Regions from separate parts of the Homo sapiens genome. Here all the other regions are linked to region 4. Evidence: promoter capture Hi-C in 16 types of primary human blood cells and fetal thymus (Javierre and others, 2016). All regions are on one chromosome and are shown on one strand. The core of a region is centred on a gene start or on the middle of the fragment in contact, and the rest is flanking DNA. Distances in the headings are between cores, read along the strand shown. Region 1 has its middle 22 kb from the start of ZNF226. Region 2 overlaps ZNF283 (zinc finger protein 283). Region 3 overlaps ZNF283 (zinc finger protein 283). Region 4 holds the start of ZNF155 (zinc finger protein 155). Region 5 overlaps ZNF225 (zinc finger protein 225).

Region 1 (3,023 bases), core at 435-2,934, 200 kb after region 4:
GTGTGTTTAAGAACTTTGCCCATTTCTTTCATTGGATTATTTGGGGTTTTTTTGTTGTTGTTGTTATAGAGTTGTAGAAGTTTCTTATATAATCTGGATATTAACCCTTTATCAGATATATAACTTGCAATTTTCCTCCATTCTGCAGGCTACCTTTTCACTCTGTTGATTGTTTCTTTTGATGCACAGAAGTTTTTGAGTTTGATATAATCCCATTTGTCTATTTTTCTTTCCATTATCTGTGCTTTTGTTGTGATAGCCAAGAAATAATTGCCAAATCTAATGTTCTGAAGGTTTTCCTTTATATTTTCTTCTAGGATTTTAACAGTTTTAGGTCTTACATTTAGGCCTTTAATCCATTTTTATTTAATTTTTGTATACAATGTAAGGTAAGGGTCTAACTTTATTCTTTTGCATATGGATATCCAGTTTTCCCATTACCATTTTTTGAAGAGACTGTCCTTTCCTCATTGTGTAATCTTGGCACTCTTGTCAAAATCATTTGGTTATATATGCAGGGGTTTATTTCTGGGTTCTGTGTTATATTGGTTATATGTCTATATGCCAGTACCACGTCATGTTAATTACTGCTGCTTTTGAAGTATGTTTTGAAATTAGGGAGTGTGAGGCATCTGAGATTGCATACAAATTTTAGAATTTTTTTTTCCTATTTCTGAAAAAAAGTCATTGGGATTTTGATAGTGATTGCATTGAATCTGTAAATCACTTTGTGTAGCATGGAAATTTTAACATTATTAAGTCTTCAAACCCCTGAGTACAGGATGAGTTCCCATTTATTTGTATCTTCTTAGATTTCTTCTTTTATTAATAACAATGTTTTGTAGTTTTCAATGTAAAAATATTTCAGTTATTTGATTAAGTTCTTTCCTCAGTATTTTACCCTTTTTGATGCTATAGTAAATGAAATTTTCTTTTCACGTTGGTGATTGCTAGTATATAGAGATGCAACTGATTTTTTAGTGCTAACTTTGTATCTTGCAACTTTGCTGAGTTATTAGTTGTAGCTTTTTTGTGTACGTGGGATCTTTCTACATATAAGACCAAGTCATCTGCAAATGGAGAAAATTTTAATTCTTCTTTCCAATTTGGATGTCTTTTTAAAAACTTTCTGATTGACCTGGCTAGAATATCCAGTACTATGTCAAATAGTAGTGGTAAGTTGGGCATCCTTGCCTTGTTCCTGATCTTAGAGTAAAAGCTTTCAGTATTTCTCCATTGAATATGATATTAACTGTGGGCTTTTCATATATGGCTGTCATTATATTTAGGTACTTTCCTTTCATTTCTAGTTAAGTGGTTTTTTTTTTTTAATCATGAAAGGCCCTTTATTTTGTTATGTGGTGTATTACATTGATTGATTTTTATATGTTGAATTATACCAGGTATAAATCTTGCCTGATCATGACCTGTGATTCTTTTAGTGTGCTGTTAAATTTAGTTTGCTAGTGTTTTGTTTAGGATTTTTGCATCAATATTTATCAGAGATATTGGTCTACAGTTTATTTTCTTGTGTGTCTTTGCTTTTGGTATCAGGTTAATGATGACTTATAGAATGAGTTTGAGAGTGTTCCTTCCTCTTCACTTCTTTGGAAGAATTTAAGAAGAATTTGTATGTTAATTCTTCTTTAAATATTTGGTAGAATTCTGCAGTGAATCCATCAGGTCCTAGAGTTTTCTTTCTTAGGAGGCTTTTGATGACTACGTCCAATGCCTCACTAGTTATACACCTGTTCAGTTGTTTTCTTAAAATTTCTTCATGATTAAGTCTTGATAGGTTGCATATTCCTAGTTTATCCATTTCTTCTAGGTTATCCAATCTGTTGGTGTATTCTTCTTCATAGTAATCTCTTATACTTTTTTTATTTCTGTGACATCAGTCATAATGTCTCCTCTTTCATTTCTAATTTTAAATATTTGAGTCTTCTCTTTTTCTTAATCTAGCTAAGAAATTAATTTTAATTATTTTTACTAATTAATTTGTCAATTGTGTTAATCTTTTCAAAACAGACTCTTAATTTTCTTTTTAAAAGTTATTTTCTTCTCTCTATTTTCTACTCTAATCTTTACTATTTTATTCCTTCCGCTGACTTTTGGTTTGCTTGTTCTTCTTTTCCTATTTCCTTAAAGTATAAGCTTAGGTTGTTGATTTGAGATATTTCTTGTTTTTAAAGGTAAGTGTTTACCAATATAAATGTCCCTATTTGGATTGCTTTCACTGCATCTCATAAGTTTTGAAATGTTGTATCTCTGTTTTTATTTGTCTCCTGATGTTTTCTAAATTCCTTTATGATTTATTTTTTGGCCCATTGGTTGTTTAAGCATGCATTGTTTAATTTCCACATATTTGTGGAATTTCTTGTTTTCCTTCTACTATTAATTTGTAGTTTTATTCCAGTATAGTTAGAGAAGATACTTTGTATAATTTCAGTCTTCCTAAATTTATTAAGACTTGTAATATAGCCTAACATGGTCTATCTTGGAGAATGTTTCATGCACACTTGAGAAGAATGTGCATTTTACTGTCGTTAGGTGAAGTGTTCTGTATGTATCTGTTAGATCCAGTTGGTCTTTAGTGTTGTTCAAGTCCTCCGTTTCCTCATTGATCTTCTGTCTAGTTCTATCCATAATTGAAAGTGGGATATTAAAGTATCCTACTATTATTGTGTTGCTGTTTATTCCCCATTCAGTTCTGTCAATGTTTGTTTTATATATTTGGGCACTCTAATGTTAGGTGCATATATATTTACGTAGCCCTCTGTATCTGCAGGTTCTGCATCCACAGATTCAACTAATCTTGGATCAAAAATATTTGAAAAGAATGAACCGTTGCATTTGTACTGAATATGTACCAACTTTTTTGGGTGATTATTCCCTAAACAATACAATATAATGACTATTTGCATGGTATTGACATAATATTAGGAATTATAAATAGCCCAGAGATGATTTAAAGTATATGAGAGGATGTGCATAGGTTATATGCAAATATTGTGCCATTTTAT
Region 2 (2,878 bases), core at 146-2,645, 130 kb before region 4:
GGAAAGTGAGTAAATATTTGGAACTTTTATAGCAATTTGACATTTCCATAACATTCTGTTTTACAAAATTATCAGTCCATAAATGATTGAGAATTGAAAACAAAGTTTGTTCTTTCCCAGAAATAATTTGAGACAAGACTCACACTTTTCAAGACATGAGACAAGTGACAATTTAAATAAGAAATTCTTCACTTGCACCTCTCTGATTAGAATAGCAGAATATTCATACTATAGCAAGATTTGGCAAATGAGGGAATCAAAATTTTCTAATGCCTGTAACAGCATAAGATAATTTATACCAGATATGTTAAATGTGCAGAAGCCTTCCAACACTATTCAGTCTTTGTTAAACTTCAGTAAGTTCATCCTAGAGAGTAACTCTGTTAATGTAACAAATGTAGGAAAACCCTTATCCATGGCAAATACCATACTGTCATCACCATTTCACCTCCATACTACCTGTAGGATGGTGAGCAAAATGCTTATCTCTTCTGGACATGATGTTTCAAATGCTGATGGTAACTAATAATGCTGTTACAGAGATTAGATGGATTTAGTATGCATCATATCCTTGGAAGAGTATCTGGTATGTAGCCTATGCTTAATACATATTAGCTATTGTTCATATTGTCTTTATTATTAGTATTACTACTGGTGAATTCTTAGGAGAGGCACAACCGTTTTGAGGAATGAATTCAGAAAAGCTTCCCATAACCACTCATCCATTTGAATTTCAGATAGTTCATTCTGGATAAGATCTAGTACAGTATAAAGAATTTGAGGGGATTTTAATTCAGAGTTTATCCCTTAAGCTGAGCTAAAAAAATGAGACTTGAAAAAATCCAGACTTTTGAAGAGTTTAGGAAAGCTGTTTTATAGAATGTCACACATTAGTTTCATTCCTCATGGTGAAATTTGATATGGGCCTCTCCTTCACATTTCTCGTAACATGAAGTTGGAAATAGAGGCTTAAACATTTTTTACCAGAACACTTCATAGATGGTGATGTGTACTTCATCTTGCAATACCTCAGAAGCAGATAGTATCCATTTCCCCCAGTATCACCAGTGCCAAGTTTGATCACTTATGGTAACTACTGGAGTTGTCTGTTATAAAGATCCATTATATACCTAATAGGATTGGTCAGCCTTGATCAATGATCTTTGGAAATGTGTGATCATATGGTATGTATTTTACTTTTTTTTTTTTTTGGGACAGGATCTCTCTTTCTGTCACCAAGGCTGGAGTGCAGTGGTGTGATTTCGGCTCACTGCAACCTGCACCTCTCGGGTTCAAGTGATTCTCGTGCCTCAGCCTCCCAAGTAGCTGGATACACAGGTGTGCACCACCATACTGGCTAATTCTTGTATTTTTAGTAGAGATGGGGTTTTGCCATGTTGGTCCAGGCTGATCTTGAACTCCTGCACCTGCCTCAGCCTCCCAAAGTGTTGGGATTACAGGTGTGAGACACTGCGCCTGGCTATATTTTACTATTTGGAAATCACAATGCATCTTAAAATTGATGGCTTCTTGCAACCACTTTCAACCAGGTGCCTGTCATGATTTAGTGCTAGCATCAAGGCAGGTTAGTTATGAAGAAATAGAGTGTGTGTTTATATACTCACACAGTTAGAAATCGACCCTTTTAAAAATTATTTCTTTTTGAAAATAATGTCAGTTCCATCAGAACTAATGCATTGATAACTAAATGTCTGTGGTTCCTTGTCATAGGTCTACACCTGACCTCTCTATTTTGTGCACATAGGGGATTCGTAATATCACTGTTCAGTCAGTCATTCACCATCTAGTGATCATCATTCTACATGATTGCACTTTTTCAAAGGCATAAAAAGCCAACAGTTGCACTCTTAATAATCAACTGTAACACAAAGCAGAGTACTTTGGGAGTTTTAACAGGATATATTATTGGTAACTGGCTATTATGCCACTCCCTCTGGGTGCCACATTTGCCTGTTAACCAAGAAATGTAGACATGGTGCCTTATCCCAACATTTCTGAAATTATATCTCAAGGAATCACCAGTGCTTACTAGTACTTGACAATGAAGGAGGATTTTACAGTTAAAGAAGCTTATAAAGTAGCATCTACTAAATCCCCTCCTAAGGAACAAGCAAAAGCACCTCACCAGCTTATCAAAAGACTAAAGAGAAGTGAAAAAAAAAAAAAGACGGCCGGGCGCGGTGGCTCATGCCTGTAATCCCAGAACTTTGGGAAGCCGAGGCGGGCGGATCACGAGGTCAGGAGATCAAGACCATCCTGGCTAACACGGTGAAACCCCGTCTCTACTAAAAATAGAAAAAATTAGCCGGGCGTGGTGGCGGGCGCCTGTGGTCCCAGCTACTCGGGGAGGCTGAGGCAGGAGAATGGCGTGAACCCGGGAGGCAGAGCTTGCAGTGAGCCGAGATTGCGCCACTGCACTCCAGCCTGGGCGACAGAGCGAGACTCCGTCTCAAAAAAATAAAAATAAAAAAAGACTAAGGAGTATTCTAGTGAAGAAAATGGTTGAACTTTGTTTAAACTGGTGTATGGCAAACTTCACTGTTGAAATACTTATTCCCATGACCTATTATCTTTGTAGGTGGGTGAAATTGCATTGGGAACTGCTGCTATAACCAAAAGAGAATTTCAGTCACCATGTCTGGTTGTTAGCTATGATGGAATGGCAGCATCATGGTCTCAGTTATGAGTGAAAATCTTTGTTGTAGCTAAGTAGTGGTGCCTCCTGAGTTTTATTAAATGCCGTTTCACTATCTTTTTCTGCACTTCTATAGTATTTAATTTGTTCATGTGATAATTTATTCTGATAGATTCACTGACTTTTTCCCATTCCTGGATATTCCAGGTTAGTCATAGTATC
Region 3 (3,105 bases), core at 593-3,092, 150 kb before region 4:
AGCGATCCTCCCACCTCAGAGGGAAGGTAGCTGGGACCACAGGTGTGTGCCACCATGCCCAGCTAATTTTTCATGTTTTTGATAGAGATGGGGTTTCACCATGTTGCCCAGGCTGGTCTTGAACTCCTGAGCTCAAGCAATCCGCCTCCTTTGGCCTTCCAAAGTGCTGGAATTACAGGCGTGAGCCACCACACCCAGCACTTTGGAATATTTTTATTTAAATCCTTTTTCCTTTGAGCCTATGGGTCTGTTTTTTTTTTCTTTTTTTCTGCAGAATAAAATTATAGTAATTGGTGATGTAAATGAATTGAAGACTCTTTAGTTCTTAGTTTGAAAAAAAAATCCAACCCAGTTCTAGGTTTTATGTTAATCTTGAATATTTAGGGAGAAGAGGGAAGTACTAGTGATTCCCTTATTTGAAAACCTTCAAATATTTACAACTTCTGGGATTATAGAAATGTCATTTAAAAATGAATTACCAGGCAAAAAAGAGTTTTAGAATTAGATTATTTTAAAGGTTACCTCTACAGACAATGGCAATAATCTCCAATATACAGCCATCTTACAAAAAATACATTTTACAGATAATATTTCCAAGGACAGGTGTAAATACCAGGAGGTAGAATAAGAAGGTTCTTGTTGTAAATGTTTAAGTAAACCACCAATTTGTACAGAAGACTGAGCCTTTGGTTAAGTTCTCAGCTTTATACCTAATCAGGTTGTATTTTCTGATGCAGCTTAATGATGCTGAATCTCTATGTAACTTCTGGGAGGAAGGGGTATTTTCCTCTATATGTTTCTGAGAACCTGTTTTGCTCACATTGTTATTTAGGAAGAATAGCAGACTCAAGGTTGACCTGTGAAATTTGAGTTCACGTTATAAGAAAGCAGGTCTGAGAAAGACACATTTTACTGTGAGCAAAATAGAGTAGCCTTAAGTTTCTTTGGCATAACAGGATAAGGGACAGTAACATTCTTCATTTTCAATAATAATGATGAAAATGTGGCCAAGCCTGGTGGCTTGCACCTGTAATCCCAGCACTTTGGGAGGTCAAGGCAGGAGGATTCCTTGAGCTCAGGAGTTCGAGACCAGCCTGGACAACACAGTGAGACCCTTTCTTTACAAACAATTTTAAAGAAGAATCATTAGTCGGGCAAGGTGGCGTGCACCTGTGGTTCTAGCTACTGGGGATGGAGGCTGAGGTAGGAGGATCACTTGAGCCCAGGAGGTTGAGGCTGCAGTGAGCTGTGTTTGTGTCACTACACTCCAGCCTAGGCAACAGAGCAAGACCCTGTCTCTGAAAAAAAAAAAAAAAAAAAAAGACAACTTATAAACAATTATCATATACCATTCAGTATTTTGTATGGATTTCTTACTTACTCTTCTATGGTAGACACTGTTCTCACCCGTCTTACTGATGAGGAAACAGAGGTATTGAGAAATGGATAACTATCAAGCTCAAATTCACATCCTAAAGCTCTCACACCAGAACTTTTATCTTAATTTCAATAGAATATGCCTCCCACATTATGTTAGTTACAAACCGGCCTGCCTAAGGAATTGATCATGCATGTCTTTCTTCATCAATTAATATGAACCAACACCATCATAACTAATGAGGATATGGTGGGCCATAATTTATTAAACCTTTTGCTTACTATTACGTAGTTTCTCATTTTTGGTTACCAGAAATTATTTTTGGTTGAGTACCCTTGTGTATTCATCTTGTGTGTTTCTTTCTTCTTTACCTATTTCTTTTTTTTTTTTTTTTTCAGATGGAGTCTCGCTCTGTCGCCCAGGCTGGAGTGCAGTGGTGCGATCTTGGCTCACTGCAAGCTCCGCCTCCTGGGTTCACGCTATTCTCCTGCCTCAGCCTCCTGAGTAGCTGGGACTACAGGTGCCCGCCACCACACCCAGCTAATTTTTTTTGTAGTTTTAGTAGAGACGGGGTTTCACCATGTTAGGATGGTCTCGATCTCCTGACCTCGTGATCCACCCACCTCGGCTTCTCAAAGTGCTGGGATTACAGGCATGAGCCGCCGTGCCTGGCCCTTCTTTACCTATTTCTTAAGGATACATTTCTAGAAGTGAAGTTTTGGGTAAAGAATTTGCCCCAAATGCCTGACCCTGTGATACTTGTACTTAGCGGGTAATACAGTGTTTGGAAGACATAGTTGTTACCTTGGAGACCAAATATGCCTTGGGGTAAGCATAAGGCAGCCAGCAGTCAGCAACAAAGGCCAGTAGGCAATCCAGGGGACCTGCTTTAGGAACTCATAGGAAGGCAGTTATAAGCAATACCGTTGAACCATGATCAAGCATTTGGAGGCAAATGGAATTTATTCTGTAAGGTTTATACTTTATAGTTTTTATTCTACTAATGTTGGTTGCAAAGTGAGCCTAATAGGATCAGGTGATTCAGTTATCTGGATTCAGTTATCTGGAGAGTACCATGTCTAAGACAGGTTCAGATACAAAATAAATCCATCAGTCAAGATAAGAAAAGTAGAATCAAAACCTCATTAATGGAAGGGGAACAAAAAAATAAATAAAACCTCCCCTCAAAAAATGAAAAAAAAGGATGAAATTCCTCAACTTAGGCCATGAATATATTAATATCATTTCATTAATATTATTCCATTAGTATTATTCCATTAATATATACATGGCATAACTTGGGGAATTTCATCCTTTTTTTTTCTAGGCAAGACATAGGCATATGTAGAAATTATACAGTTCATGTAATGTATGGCCATGGTTACAATGATTGTGTGGATTACCTAAACAGAAAACATTATGATCATAATGAAAAGATAAATGTTATTAATATATATAGATATATAATTTTATTTTTTATTTTTTATTTTATTTATTTATTTTTTTCGAGATGGAGTCTTGCTCTGTCACCCAGGCTGGAGTGCAGCAGCGCGATCTCGGCTCACTGCCAGCTCTGCCTCCCGGGTTCACGCCATTCTCCTGCCTCAGCCTCCTGAGTAGCTGGGACTACAGGCGCCTGCCACCACGCCTGGCTAATTTTTTGTATTTTTGTAGAGACGGGGTTTCACCGTGTTAGCCAGGATGGTCTCGATCTCCTGACCTCATAA
Region 4 (2,900 bases), core at 119-2,618:
ATTGGTACTGAGAGGTGGGCTTGCTGCTGCAACAAATACCTAAAAATGTAGCAGTCTTTGGAACTATGTAATGGATAGAGTCTAGAAGAGTTTTTACATGTATGCTAGGAAAAGCCTACATTGCCATGAATGGACTGATAAGGACAATTCTGGTTAGCGCTCAGAAATAGAGAATAAGAACTGTAGAGAAAACATCAATCTTGTTAGAGCATACCTAGGTAGTCATGATCAGAATGTTGGTAGAAATATGGACAGTAAAGGCCATTCTGAAGACCTCAGTCAGAAATGTTGAACATGTTATTGGAAGAGAAGAGAGCTTCTTGTTATAAAGGGACAAAGAATTTGGCTGAATTATATTCAGGTGCTAGTGTTTTATGGAAGGTAGAATTTGTGAATGATATAATTGTTTATCTGAATTAATTTCTAATCAAAGTGTTGAAGTTGCTTGAATCATCTTGACTACCCGTAGTGAAAGGCACGAAGTGAGGAATGACTGAAATAATTATTAATTAAAAGGGAAACAGAACTAAAATTTTTAAAAGTTTACAGCCTATCTACTTTGGAAAAAAAAAAAAACAGGAAACCTGAAGAATACAAGGGTATGGTTAAGCAACTAACTAATTCATGAATTTAGTATGGATTGGCCATGTCAACTGAAGCCAGGACCTATTGTCCAAGACAATGGAAGAATGACCCCAAAGGCATTTCACAGATTATGGCAGCTTCTCCTCCCATCACAGGCCCAGAGTGCAAGGACCTGGGGGACAGAAAGGGCCTTTGATGCCAGATATACCCTAATATATTAGGCACAGTTTCCTGCCTACTACGATTGAGCGTGTCAATAAATTTTTATCTCTTGGGAGGGCAGAACAGAGCAAGGATACAGCTGTAACTGGTTTAGAAATAGCAGTCACTCAATTTTCAGAGAAGTGTTCCTCATACTGTGGTTGGCACAGTCACTTTATCTAAAGAAAACCATGAAAAGTATTCTTTTTTAGTTTAGAAAAATTGATATAGAACATGAGACTCCATTTTTTTAAAATAAAAATATAGGTTGATAGGCCAGAATTCACAGGTCCACCTGCCTGAGCCAAAATTCTCACGCCTCCACAGAGCAAATGGACTCCATTTCCCAAGATACCAGCGAAACGCCTGCGGGAGTCTAATTGCCCGGTCGATGCGCAGGAAATTTGGCTCCCGCAGGCGTTTCGCGAGTAGCTTGGGAGGCGTGGGAATTTTGGCCCAGGCAGGAGGACCTGTGAATTCTGGGAAGTGGAGTCCATTTGCTCTGTGGAGTCGTGGGAACTTTGGCTCAGGCAGGCGGATTCGGGGGATTCTGGGAAGTGTAGTCCAGACGCCTGTGGCATCATCGACACTTCCGGTCTCCGAGCAGGACACTGCTACTTAACAAGGTGGTTTGAGCCAAGTATGTGTCTTGCGGGTCTTTGCGAAAGTGAACCAGTTATTAGGGGCGCCTAACGACCTGGGGGGTCAACTAAGGGGGTAAGAAGCCCTGGAGAAGACCTGAGGTTTGGAGATGCGAGGGGTGGGAGGGAAGTTTCGTTGCCGTCGATGGAGCCTTCTGGCGTTGGGGGCTGTACTCAGGTCCACCGGAGGAGTCGTCGGGGGTTCGGGGGGGGCGGGGAAGAACTCTGTCTAGTCTTGTGTGCCTGTTTAGAGGGTTTTCCAGGTGTTTGACCTCGTTCAGTCCGCCTCCCTCCACTCTTAAGTGTGCGACCTCTTTCTCGCGATATAACGTGGGGTGTTACTTAATCTCCCTGTACCTCCCATTGCCGTTTTTTAAATGAGGATTTCAGGACCATCCTGATAGAATTGTTTTAGGAGTTGAAAGTTGTGGTATAAAACAAAGACTTAACAGCTCCTGTCACTTGGTGTCCTGTTAATTTCCCGCGAAGTGGTCAGGTGCCCGGGTGGGGTCAGAGCTCCAGCTGCTCCGGCCCTTCTCTTGGAGCCCGGCAGGGCTCTGGATGATCCCGGACGCCTCTGACCTCTTTTTAGGAAGGCGTGGGTTGCATCCACGTTTCACGAAGGGAGAGGAGCATTTAACTTGTATCCGGGACGGCGACGCAGAGTGTTTGACAGCTTTCTCCTTCCCCAGCCTGACTTTTCTAAAAGAGCTGCAGGGAGGGACTTGGCTACTGAGGACAAAGCTGTCTACACGAGTGGTCTTTGGCTTTTCTCTTTTTAAAAAAAAGTTATTTATTTTGTTAGTCTGTTTTTATTATTGTTATTATTTGAGAATGAGGTTTGCTCTGTCTCCCAGGCTGGAGTGCAGCAGTGGCGCGATCTTGGCTCACTGCAACCTCCGCCTCCTGGGTTCAAGCGATTCTCTGTCCTCAGCTCCGGAGTAGCTGGGATTACAGGCATGCGTCACCATGCCCGGCTAATTTTTGTATTTTTAGTAGAGACGGGGTTTCACCATGTTGGCCAGGCTGGTCTCGAACCTGTGGTCCTAAGTGATCCGCCTGCCTCGGCCTCCCAAAGTGCTGGAATTACAGGTGTGAGCCACCGCGCCGGGCCGGTTTTTTCTTTTACAGAGATGTTCACCTCAACCAAGAGTGTATAGGATGTGTCCTTGGGCATGGGTGTTGATAATAATTAAACCTTAATTGGTAACTTAATTCTAAGGGCTTTATGGAAATAAATACATTTACGCCACACCATGGCTCTGTGGAAAGGTATTGCTCTTTTTCTTTTTTTTTTTTTTTTTTTTTTCCTGAGACGGAGTCTCGCTCTGTCGCCCAGGCTAGAGTGCAGTGGCGCGATCTGGGCTCAGTGCAATAGGCCGCCTCCCAGGTTCAGGCGATTCTCCTGCTTCAGCCTCCTAAGTAGCTGGGATTACAGGTGCGCACCACCACGCCCAGCTAATTTTTGTATTT
Region 5 (3,263 bases), core at 641-3,140, 130 kb after region 4:
TGATGGTATTATTTATAATCAAATAAGTGAGACTGTTAAATTCTTCCTAATATGATTACAAAAATCATGGGAAAATTGATAACCTGCTCTTGGTTATGGTAAGACAAATCAGTGTACACGTATCCTCTTGAAAGATTAGGGTTTGGTAAAAAATTGAGACCTGATATTATATGATCACAATTTTAAATATGCCTATTTATTGACATTTTAATTTTCATTTAAAATTATTTTAAATAAACAGTAGTAAAATCTACCCAAAATGTTTTTTTTTACAGGATTGGTATTAATGAGCATATATAAAATTAAAGATTATTTAGAGTAGATAAAAATAGATTATCAATTCTTTGGAATACTATGCAGACATGAAATGAGATAAAATAGATGGCAACAATGACAATAATAATAAAAAAAATTTTAAAAAGCTAGTGTTTATTAGGTATTTAGTCTGCACTGATCAACTTTCCCAATGCTGCATGTATTTCCTTGTTTAATCATTGAAAAAACTATAATATGAAAATTATTAGAGAGGGAGTAAATAGGTGAACTTGTCCAAGGTCATGTGACCAGGAAGGCACAGAGCCTTGGGATGTGCTTTTAGGCACACTGTCTGCAGATCATAGATCAATGCTGCAATCAATGTATGTAGTTTATGCCTTGAGAGTACACAGGATGTACTGTATAGCTGTCCCACACAGGTTACCACAAGCTTTGTTAGTTTGGTGGCAGATATTAAAGAAAAATGATAACATTCAGGGTTCAAGTATGAGAGAGAACAATGGGAATTATCAGGCAAGACTGGGACTGAATTGTTAAATGTTACTGGGGCAGTTGGCAAGATTCACTGAAACCTATATACGTGCAGCCCAGGATGCTGCATTTAGAGTCCTACAGGGTTACTTACAAGGAGACTCAGTAAGTGCACAAAGTAAACCTACAGGAGGTCTTTTCCATCACTGCACTTCTGGTGGAGCTCAGGAAAATCCATCATTATCAGGATACAGACAGAATGAATAGCAAATCTATGAGCTGGCTGGGCGCAGTGGCTCATGCCTGTAATCCCAGCACTTTGGGAGGCCGAGGCAGGCGGATCACCTGAGGTCAGGAGTTTGAGACCAGCCTGGCCAATGTGGTGAAACCCCATCTCTATTAAAAATACAAAAATTAGCCAGGCATGGTGGCAGGCACCTGTAATCCCAGCTACTTGGGAGGCTGAGGCGGGAGGATCACTTGAACCTGGGAATCGGAGGTTGCAGTGAGCCAAGATCATGCCACTGCACTCCAGCCCGGGCAACAGAGCAAGACTGTCTCAAAATAAATAAATAAATAAAATAAAATAATAAAAAAGGAAGTCTGTGTGTTGACCTATGTCTCTCAAGATCCAAAACAGCTTCTCATTCCTCCCCTCTGTCTGCTCAGTGCCACCCCTCTCTCAGTAGTCATTGGTCATGAGACTGAGGTTGCATATGTTCGATGCTGTAGGAGGCAGTGACCTTCAAGGACGTGGCTGTGGTCTTCACTGAGGAAGAGCTGAGGCTGCTGGACCTTGCCCAGAGGAAACTGTACCGAGAAGTGATGCTGGAGAACTTCAGGAACCTGCTCTCAGTGGGTGAGGACAGGCACCCTTTGTAAGGGAACATCAGGACCAGGAGTGGCTTTGTATCCTAGAGTGTTCAAGTTTGAGTATGCATTGGGAACCTAAGTTTCCAGTAAATTTTACTTAGATTTTTTTCTAGGATATATTGGCACTAAGCACATGACTTTTCACGTTCACAGGGCATCAATCACTCCACAGAGATACTTTCCACTTCCTAAAGGAAGAAAAGTTTTGGATGATGGAGACAGCAACCCAAAGAGAAGGGAATTTAGGTAAGAAGCAAGCAACTCTGTGTCCTTGTGCGTGACTCTCCCATCGGTTTCACTTCTGTCCATTGCCCAGCTCTGTTGTCCTGGTCTAAATGGCCAGACCTCTTTCCTGAATTATTACAGCTGACTTTCGGCTGGTTTCCCTGCTCCCACTTTTCCCACCCTGACATCTGTTTTCCTCATGGCAGCCAATGTATTCCTTAGGAAAGTCAGACTGCCATTCCTCGGCTCAAAAGCCTTTCTGGCTTCTTTTTTTTTTTTTTGAGATGGAGTCTCGCTGTGTCGCCCAGGCTGGAGTGCAGTGGTGCAATCTCGGCTCACTGCAAGCTCCGCTTCCCGGGTTCACGCCATTCTCCTGCCTCAGCCTCCTGAGTAGCTGGGAATACAGATGCCCGCCACCACGCCCGGCTAATTTTTTGTATTTTTAGTAGAGACGGGGTTTCACCGTGTTAGCCAGGATGGTCTCGATCTCCTGACCTCGTGATCCGCCCGCCTTGGCCTCCCAAAGTGCTGGGATTACAGGCGTGAGCCACCGCGCCCGGCTGGCTTCTTATGTTTACTTAAGTTACAAGTGTTTTAAGTGCCTTTTAGAGACCATGTGATCTGCTTTTCATCCCCCACCACCTCTCTGACTACATCTCCTGTCCTCTCCCTTTTGCCTTGTCCTTCCAGCCACGTTGTCCTCCCTACCGTTTCTCTGACCTGCCAAGGACACTGTATTGCCTGTTGTAGTAACCAATGACCACACATTTAGTCGACTAAACAACAAAAATTTATCATCTTTCTGTTCTTTAGGCCTGAAGTCTGACACGTCTCACCGGACAATTATCAAGCTGTCTGTAGGTGTTTGTTTCTTTCTGGATGCTCTTGAGGAGAAGCCTTTATTTTGGTTTACCAGTCTCTAGGCATTCCTTGGCTCTTGTTTCCCTTCCTCCATCTTCAAAGGCAGCTACTTTGCATTTCTGACCCTTCTTCCATAGTCATGCTCACTCTGCCACTCTTCTTATGCCTCTCTCTCCTGCCTTTCAGGTTCCTTGTAATTGTGTTGGTTACCCCTGGATGATTCACAATGACCTCTCTTTCTTGTTAGCTGATTAGTGACCTTAATTGCATCTGCAATCCCAGTCCCCCTTGCTGTGTAATATAACATGTTCATAGGTCTTGGGTACTGGATGTGGACATCTTTTATGAATCATTGTTCTGTCTACTACTGAAGCTTCTGCCTCAGAGCCCTTACTTGCTTTTCTGTCTGATCAGAATACTCTTTCACCTCAAAACTTTCTGGCTTCTCCTTTAAGCATATTCAAGTCTCTGTTCAGTTTTAGAGAGGCCATTTCCAACCACCCTATTTAAAATACTATTCTAGGCCAGGCGCGGTAGCTCACGCCTGTAATCCCACT

The links. The method cuts DNA at HindIII sites, captures the fragments that hold promoters and counts their contacts. A CHiCAGO score of 5 or more calls a contact.
Region 1: a contact is called between a fragment that was not itself captured here and the fragment with the promoter of ZNF155 in region 4, in 12 of 17 cell types (non-activated CD4 T cells, total CD4 T cells, monocytes and 9 more). The highest score is 8.0, in non-activated CD4 T cells.
Region 2: a contact is called between a fragment that was not itself captured here and the fragment with the promoter of ZNF155 in region 4, in 13 of 17 cell types (M2 macrophages, naive CD8 T cells, M1 macrophages and 10 more). The highest score is 10.5, in M2 macrophages.
Region 3: a contact is called between a fragment that was not itself captured here and the fragment with the promoter of ZNF155 in region 4, in 6 of 17 cell types (naive CD8 T cells, fetal thymus, total CD4 T cells and 3 more). The highest score is 7.2, in naive CD8 T cells.
Region 5: a fragment that was not itself captured here is called in contact with the fragment with the promoter of ZNF155 in region 4 in 14 of 17 cell types (neutrophils, monocytes, M2 macrophages and 11 more); the score reaches 9.6 in neutrophils.

Annotation. Positions count from the first base shown.
Region 1 is chr19:44,185,558-44,188,580 of GRCh38, forward strand. It overlaps a transcript of ZNF226 not described here. Among named protein-coding and RNA genes, the nearest start is that of ZNF226, 22 kb to the left of the region's middle. The HindIII fragment of the contact is 935 bases long and covers 1,218-2,152 here.
Region 2 is chr19:43,849,245-43,852,122 of GRCh38, forward strand. It overlaps ZNF283 (zinc finger protein 283), which reads left to right. Exons shown (of 7, transcript NM_181845.2): 7 at 1-2,773. Among named protein-coding and RNA genes, the nearest start is that of ZNF283, 23 kb to the left of the region's middle. The HindIII fragment of the contact is 1,386 bases long and covers 703-2,088 here.
Region 3 is chr19:43,831,729-43,834,833 of GRCh38, forward strand. ZNF283 (zinc finger protein 283) reads left to right here. Exons shown (of 7, transcript NM_181845.2): 4 at 1,777-1,898. The coding sequence starts at 1,777. Among named protein-coding and RNA genes, the nearest start is that of ZNF283, 6.0 kb to the left of the region's middle. The HindIII fragment of the contact is 7,984 bases long and covers 1-3,105 here.
Region 4 is chr19:43,982,820-43,985,719 of GRCh38, forward strand. ZNF155 (zinc finger protein 155) reads left to right here and starts at 1,369. Exons shown (of 5, transcript NM_198089.3): 1 at 1,369-1,426. RefSeq lists a silencer at 1,066-1,265. The HindIII fragment of the contact is 8,717 bases long and covers 1-2,900 here.
Region 5 is chr19:44,116,709-44,119,971 of GRCh38, forward strand. It overlaps ZNF225 (zinc finger protein 225), which reads left to right. Exons shown (of 5, transcript NM_013362.4): 3 at 1,480-1,606; 4 at 1,774-1,866. Among named protein-coding and RNA genes, the nearest start is that of ZNF225, 4.9 kb to the left of the region's middle. The HindIII fragment of the contact is 2,373 bases long and covers 705-3,077 here.